2 separate regions of the Homo sapiens genome follow, and region 2 is linked to region 1. The links are contacts of gene promoters, found by promoter capture Hi-C in human tissues and cell types (Jung and others, 2019). All regions are on one chromosome and are shown on one strand. Each heading gives the region's core, a stretch centred on a gene start or on the middle of the fragment in contact. The rest is flanking DNA. Distances are from core to core; before and after follow the strand shown. Region 1 holds the start of UBR2 (ubiquitin protein ligase E3 component n-recognin 2). Region 2 overlaps RRP36 (ribosomal RNA processing 36).

Evidence for each region. The method cuts DNA at HindIII sites, captures the fragments that hold promoters and counts their contacts. A contact is called where the count stands out against the background at its distance.
Region 2: a fragment that was not itself captured here is called in contact with the fragment with the promoter of UBR2 in region 1 in 1 of the 25 tissues and cell types used here (spleen).

What each region holds. Positions count from the first base shown.
Region 1 is chr6:42,562,319-42,566,173 of GRCh38, reverse strand. UBR2 (ubiquitin protein ligase E3 component n-recognin 2) reads right to left here and starts at 2,145. Exons shown (of 47, transcript NM_001363705.2): 1 at 1,777-2,145. The coding sequence starts at 1,854. RefSeq lists a silencer at 752-881 and enhancers at 1,914-2,433, 2,504-2,583. The HindIII fragment of the contact is 6,066 bases long and covers 1-3,855 here.
Region 2 is chr6:43,029,309-43,033,163 of GRCh38, reverse strand. It overlaps RRP36 (ribosomal RNA processing 36), which reads right to left. Exons shown (of 7, transcript NM_033112.4): 7 at 3,565-3,855. Among named protein-coding and RNA genes, the nearest start is that of RRP36, 9.6 kb to the right of the region's middle. The HindIII fragment of the contact is 7,304 bases long and covers 1-3,855 here.

The DNA.
Region 1 (3,855 bases), core at 896-3,395:
ATAGTTTGCACTTTTAGAATGGGATAACGGAATTTGTACCCTGTATCACTGGACCAAGACACAAAATTCAGTGAGAGAAAAAAAATCAAAACAGTACTTTGAGGTAAGCAACAGATATCAATTAGAAGAGGCATGGAGAGCAAACAGCTGTCATTATTATTTAACAGTTTACTTGTAACACTACTTTCATTTTCTTTTTTCAAATCTCCGATAAACGAAAGGCAGAAATTCCTTGAGTTGTACAACATTAAGTAGAAAGTAAATGAAAACAGACCTAGGCTAAACAAGTAAGTAGGTTTAAAAAAACACACCAAGGCAGGGCGCAGTGGCTCACGCCTGTAATCCCAGCACTTTGGGAGGCCCAAACAGGTGGATCACCTGAGGTCGGGAGTTTGAGACCACCCTGACCAACATGGAGAAACCCCAACTCTACTAAAAATACAAAATTAGCCGGGCGTGGTGGTGCATGCCTGTAATCCCAGCTACTCGAGGGGCTGAGGCAGCAGAATCGCTTGAACCCGGGAGACTGAGGTTGCGGTGAGCTGAGATCGCGCCACTGCACTCCAGCCTGGGCATCGAAAGCGAAACTCCGTCTCAAAAACAAAAACAAACAACAACAAAACACACCCAAACAAGCAAAGATTCAGCATTTAACAACGTATTTCTTTAAAGTCTTCACCTCTACTCCTGACATTTCTTTCTACCCGGACTTAATGTCCTCACCAATTCACGCAAAATAACTACTCACTGACCAACAGCTCCACAGTGCCCCCAATCCCAAATTTTGTTCGTAGCATTCAGATTGCTGACTTTTATTCACGGGTCACTCCCTTCCTAGCAGCCTTTTTAATTGGAGGTCTTAGAGGTGGGGCCCAAGCTGTCTTGGTCCATTCATAATCATTCTCGGCAATCTCTTCTAATGGGTGTTCCTACAACTCTGCTATTTACACTAGCATATTCATATTACAGTTTTAATGCAATAGTGCGTTTGAACGGTTTTACGTTTGGAATATAACTGCTCCTACTACACTGTGACCAGTTCTCACGTTTAGCTTATACAGTATTTGTTGAAAGCTGCTCTATCAACGTTATATAACATTTGTTCTCCATCCAATTACCCCTAACTCCTAGAAAAAATATTTTTAAAATTTCCCAGACTCCACGACTACTTTCTCATACTCAGTAAACTTTCCACACATGCATCAACGTTGTCAACTAATCAAACCGGTGCAAAAAAAAAAGATAGCACTGAAACGGATAACGAAGGGTAGTGTCGTTTGCCTTCTTGGTGCCTGGGGCAGTCCCAAAAACAAAAGAGGGGCTCGGTTAGGGTGGCATGTTTAGTCGGAGGAGCACACGGCTTCGCTTGTCTCAGGAAAAGCAATTAACTAGATAAACTAGGGCGATTATACCAAAAACACAAGAAGCGTCTCTTCTCCTCTTCCAAGAGCTGATATAAAGGGCAAAGGCCCATGTGTTGGGAGACTTAATGGGAGGCTGGGGGAAAGGAGGTATGATGGAAGAGCCGTGGGTTCTCCTGGGCAGAAAGGGAAAGTAAACGTAGTTAGTGCACAGCGCAGCTCTGGCAGCTGTTGAAAATGGAAAGAGAGGGGCAGGATCGGTGGCCTCCCCGGGCTATTACCCCACAAGGCGAGGGCCGGCACAGCTGTTTCCCCAAGTCTGGGTCGGGCTGCTCCAGGACGTCCAGGAGTCGGTTCCTCCCCACAGGCGCGGCCTGCGAGGGGCAGACGCACCCGCCCGGGTTCCGGCACTCACCCCCGCAATCTCCTCGGCCGAACATTCCAGCAAGCTCCGGTCGATGGCCTGCACCTCTGGCTCTAGCTCCGACGCCATCTTCTCTCCTCCTCCTCCCCAGCGCTACCGCCGCCCGGAGAGCTGCAGCCTCACCTCGGCCCCGGCGGCCTCGACTGCCACCCCTGCCCCAGGCAATCAGTCCCGGAGCCGTCCAAGTGGCTGCAGGTGGAGCAACAGAGGGAGAGAAGGGTGACGTGAACCGGAAAGGAAGGACAGCGGCCTCCTGCGCTCCCTCCCAAGCTTAGCGCCCAAGAGTCAAGTCACTGGCTCGTCCCTGACCCAGGGAAGGACACAGAAAACCCCAGGCCTGACACTCTCGCTGGCCACTACCGCGTCCTGCACCAGGAAAGGGGCAATAACACCCAGGAGGGGAAGCGGAGCTTTCTGGGTACTGTAGTTCTGGGTGCTGTAGGTACAGCACAGCCGGGAAAAAGGTGGCGCCCTAACACGGTGCCCCTCGAATGCATTGTGGGAGTTGTAGTCCATTCTCAAGGGGCGCTGGCTTAAATGGCAGATAAGCGGGCGGGGCTTTTCTGCCCAACGAGAATCATGGGAAGACAGTCGCGGAAAGCAGCGCCCCCTGGAAAAAAGCCAAAGAGAAAGATACTGTGGGAACTGTAGTTTTATTCTCCGAATCTCGTTTGTTCATTTTTGTATCCCCAGCTTCAAGAACACTGCCTGGCACATGGTAGACCCTCAAGGACTTGCCAGTCTGGCATAGGGTAGGCACTCAAATACTTGTCAAAGGAATGAATGAATTACATTCTATTCCTGTGGTTCTATGTCCTGTCATCCATCGAACCCATATCTTTTATACGAGTAATGGAGGTGAACATTACCCACTTTTTTGAAGGTTTAAAACATGTTTTAAAAAATTTTTCAAAAACTTTAGTGATGACCACTTATAAACTTTATCACAAATCTTGCTGCAAAGGAAAAAGAGTCTATTAGGCCAATTAAAAGATTTCCTCTTGATAGAGACATTTAATTTCTACAGATAATCAGACCAAGCTTGGTGGCTCATGCCTGTAATTCCAGCACTTTGGGAGGCCGAGGGGGGCAGACTACTTGAGCCCAGGAGTTTGAGACCAGTTTGGACAACATAGCGAGACCCTCTTGATAAAAATCAAAAAATTAGCCAGGTGTGGTGGCACGCCTGTAGTCCCAGCTACTCGGGAAGCTGAGGCAGGAGGATTGCTTGAGCCCAGGCAGTTGAGGCCATCGTGAGCTGTGATCAGCCCACTGCACTCCAGCCTGCGTGACACAGCTGAGACCCTGTATCAAAAAAGAAGGAAAAAAAAAAAAAAGAAATAGGTAAACATTGTTAGACTAGCTATCAAAGAAAACTATGTTTAGTTAAAGGTAATTAGACTCTTGACTGACAGCTGGGTGACTGGGCTTCTTAGAAGTCTTCAGTCTCTAGAGTTTGTCAGAAAATTGTTTATACCTTTTGTCAAGTGTGTTAATTTATTCCCAGAAGTAGGTTGTAAATTACATATAGGGGGGAAAAGTTCTGAGCCAGACCAGGTTTAGGACATGTTTATGTTTATGTTGTTTTGGGATTTTTTTTAAACCAATACTATGATATTAACCAGTTTTTTAAAAAAGGAAATAAGAAACTGCCTGTATCCCTGTAACCTCACAATACAAGTAAGCCTTCTTATCACTTTTTAAAAGTTATATATATATATACATATAAAACATCAGAAATTCAAACTCGAAAGGAATGTTTTAAAAAAGGAAAATTGAAAACTTCCTATTCCTCTTACCCCAAGTCCCTCTCCCCAAAGAAAATCATTTTTGACACTGTCTTATGAGTCTGTCCAGAAAAAAGTATGCACATATCTGTACAGATATTTATAATGAGATATCTTGAAATATTCTTCTATGTATTTTTCTTTTTTTGCCCAACTTCCTTACACTGATCCACTCAGGACAGAGTCAACTTGGAAGAAAACTGGGATTGTCCCAGCCTAGAAGCAAAAACAACATCTCTTGAGCTGTCCTAACATAGAATTTAAGTCGTTAATAGACTGTAAA
Region 2 (3,855 bases), core at 637-3,136, 470 kb before region 1:
TCCTGCCTCAGCCTCCTGAGTAGCTGGGACTACAGGCACGTGCCACCATGTCCGGCTAATTTTTTGTATTTTTAGTAGAGATGGGGTTTCACCGTGTTAGCCAGGATGGTCTTGATCTCCTGACCTCATGATCCGCCCTCCTCGGCCTCCCAAAGTGCTGGGATTACAGGTGTGAGCCACCGTGCCCGGCCCAAGAGCTGCCTTTTTTTAGATACAGGATCTCACTGTGTTACCTAGGCGGCAGTGCAGTGGCTGTTCACAAGCGCAATCACTGCATACTACAGCTTTGAACTCCTAGTCTCAAGTGATTGTCCCACCTCAGTCTCCTAACTGGGGGCATAGAGCTGCTTTTAAGGTAGGCATTCTTTCTTTAAGAAAGGGTCTTGCTCTGTCACCCAGGTTGGAGTACGGGTGGCACAATCACGGCTCACTGCCTCGACCTCCCAGGCTCAAGTGATCCTCCTGCCTCAGCCGCCTGAGTATTCTTTGTAGAGATGCAGTTTCACCATGTTGCCCAGGCTGGATAGACTTTCAAATGTTCCTGGCTTATGATTTATCTAGCCTTAAAAAAAAAACAAAAAAAACAAAAAAAAAACTAGGCCAGGTGCGGTGGCTCACACCTGTAAACCTATCACTTTGGGAGGCCTAGGTGGGTGGATTACTTGAGGTCAGGAGTTTGAGACCAGCTGGCCAACACGGTGAAACCCCATCCCTACAAAAAAAAAAATTAGCCAGGTGTGGTGGCATACACCTGAAATACCAGCTGCTCAGGGAGCTGAGGCAGAAGAATAGCTTTAACCTGGGAGGAAGAGGTTACAGTGAGCCAAGATCGTGCCACTGCACTCCAGCTTGGGCGACAGAGGGAGACCCCATCTCAAAAAAAATTCTAGAAAATGCCCAGCCTCTTTGAAATATTCTTTCCTGAAATTTTGATTGTCAAGTCTCACATTTATCTTCATTTTGTTGTTTTATAGACAGGATCTTGCTCTGTCACCCAGGCTGGAGTGCAGTGATGCCATCATAGCTCACTGCAACCTCAAGTTCCTGGGGTCAAGCAATCCTCCAGCCTGAGCCTCCAGAGAAGCTGGGACTATAGGCATGTGCCACATGTCTGATTTTTTAATTTTTTTTTAGAGACAAGGTCTCCTTATGTTGCCCAGGCTGGTCCCCAACTGAGGACCTCAAGCAGTCCTCTCTATGCCTCCCAAAAAGTTGGGATTACAGGTGTCAGCAACTACACCCAGCCTCTTCCATGTTTTTTAACCTCTTTTCCTTAGTTTCCACTTCTCTGTATGTCAGTGCTCTCTCTGTGTAACTTCAGATCTATTTCCAGTTCATTCTCCCTTTAGGGAGAAGTCTAATCTGCTGCTTAACCATAAAGTTTCTAACTTCTCGTAGTGTACTTTTTTTTTTCTGAGGTGGAGTATCACTCTTGTTGCCCAGGCTGGAGTGCAGTGGCGCAATCTTGGCTCACCGCAACCTCCGCCTCCTAGGTTCAAGCAATTCTCCTGCCTCAGCCTCCCAAGTAGCTAGGATTACAGGCATGCGCCACCACGCCCGGCTAATTTTTTGTATTTTTAGTAGAGACGGGGTTTCACCATGTTGGCCAGGCTAGTCTCGAACTCCCAACCTCAGGCGATCCACCCACCTCAGCCTCCCAAAGTGCTGGGATTACAGGCACGAGCCACCATGCCTGGCCCTACTTTTCATTTTTAAAAGGTTTTCTTTTTAAGTTTTACTTTTTTTTTTTTTTTTTTTGAGATGGAGTCTCGCTCTGTTCCCCAGGCTGGAGTGCAGTGGCACGATCTCGGCTCACTGCAAGCTCTGCCTCCCAGGTTCATGCCATCCTCCTGCCTCAGCCTCCAGAGTAGCTGGGACTACAGGCACCCGCCACCACGCCTGGCTAATTTTTTGTATTTTTAGTAGAGATAGGGTTTCACTGTACTAGCCAGGATGGTCTCCATCTCCTGACCTCGTGATCCACCCGCTTTGGCCTCCCAAAGTGCTGGGAACACAGGCGTGAGCCACCGTGACCGGCCTTAAGTTTTACTTTTTAATCACACCAGTTTAGTACCTTTTGATATTCATTTGTCACACTTTTTCTTTAAACATAAGACATTTTGTATTTTTTATTTTATACTTCTCACATTTTAATTTTTGCCAGTCTGGACGACAGAGTGAGACTCCATCTCAAAAACAAAAAACAAACAAAAAAAAAACAATCCTCAAGAAAGGATTACATTTGCTTCTGCCAGGACCCTGGAGACACTATCTACTTGAGACTTTTTTTTTTTTTGAGACGGAGTCTCGCTCTGTCGCCCAGGCTGGAGTGCAGTGGCGCGATCTTGGTTCACTGCAACCTCCGCCTCCCGCGTTCAAGCAATTCTCCTGCTTCAGCCTCCTGAGTAGCTGGGATTACAGGCGCCCACCACCACACCCGGCTAATTTTTGTATTTTTAGTAGAGACAGGGTTTCACCATGTTGGTCAGGCTGGTCTCGAACCCCTGACCTCGTGATCCACCTGCCTCTGCCTCCCAAAGTGCTGGGATTACAGGTGTGAGCCACCATGCCTGGCCATTTTTTTTTGGGGGGGGGGGCGCGGTGGTGATTTCACTCTTTTTGCCCAGGCTGGAGTGCAGTGGTGCGATCTTGGCTCACTGCAACCTCTACCTCCCAGGCTCAAGTGATTATCCTACCTCAGCCTCCTGAGTAGCTGGGATTACAGGCACCCACCACCACACCCAGCTAATTTTGTATTTTTAGTAGAGATGGGGTTTCACCATGTTGGCCAGGCTGGTCTTGAACTCCTGACCTCAGGTGATCCGCCTGCCTCGGCCTCCCAAAGTGGTGGGATTACAGGTGTGAGCCACCACGCCCAGCCTACTTGAGACTATTTTAAACTAAGTTATCAGCCTGAGGATTTTCCAGACCACATGGGTTATAAACTCTTGTCCCAAACAGTACTGAAGGCCAGCTGTGCTTGTATATTACCATGGAAGCTTTATATCCCTACCTCTTAACATCCCTTGCATCCAAAACCAAAGCCAAGTAGGGGAGTTGTGGGATTGGTTCACCCACTAAATGATCTTGTCATCCTTGAGGGGCCCAGATTTAAGTGGGAGGGGTTTCTGATCTGACTTCCCAGTTGTAGATGCCTTAGGCTTTATTGCCTATCCCAATATGTGGCCCACTAAAAAGTAGTTCTAGGCTACCCACAAATCCCACATAAAAGCAGAGGCCTTAAGGCCGGAACGGTGGCTCAACGCCTGTAATCCCAGCACTTTGGGAGTCTGAGGCAGGCAGATCACTTGAGGCCAAGAGTTTAAGATCAAACTAGCCAACATGGCAAAACTCTATCTCTACTAAAAATACGAAAGAAATTAGCTGGGCTTGGTGGCGGATGTCAGCTACTCGGGAGGCTGAGGCACAAGAATCACTTGAACCTGGGAGGTGGAGGTTGCAGTGAGGCGAGATTGCACCACTGTACTCTAGCCTGGGTGACAGAGCGAGACTCTGTTTCGGGGGGGAAACACAAAAAGAAGGCCACAAAAAACAGAATAAAAAGATGAGTAAAGAGAATGTTTATGAAGTGGCTCCTACATAATGTCCCAGCCCTGGGAGTCACGAACAGACTCCATGGTTTTCATTGGCCCCTCTTCTTCGGTATCAGAATCCCTGGTTTAAGGCAAGGATGAGAGAAGAACACGAGGACGCAATGAACCAGATTCAAGCTGAGGCTGTGTGGCATGGCAGAAGGCTGAACTATTCTTGTGTAGCCCTAGGGATAGTCCAAGAGCCCTCTAGTCTTCTCTGAGGCAATGAGATTCAAGGGCAGCTGTGATCCTTGCCCTTGAA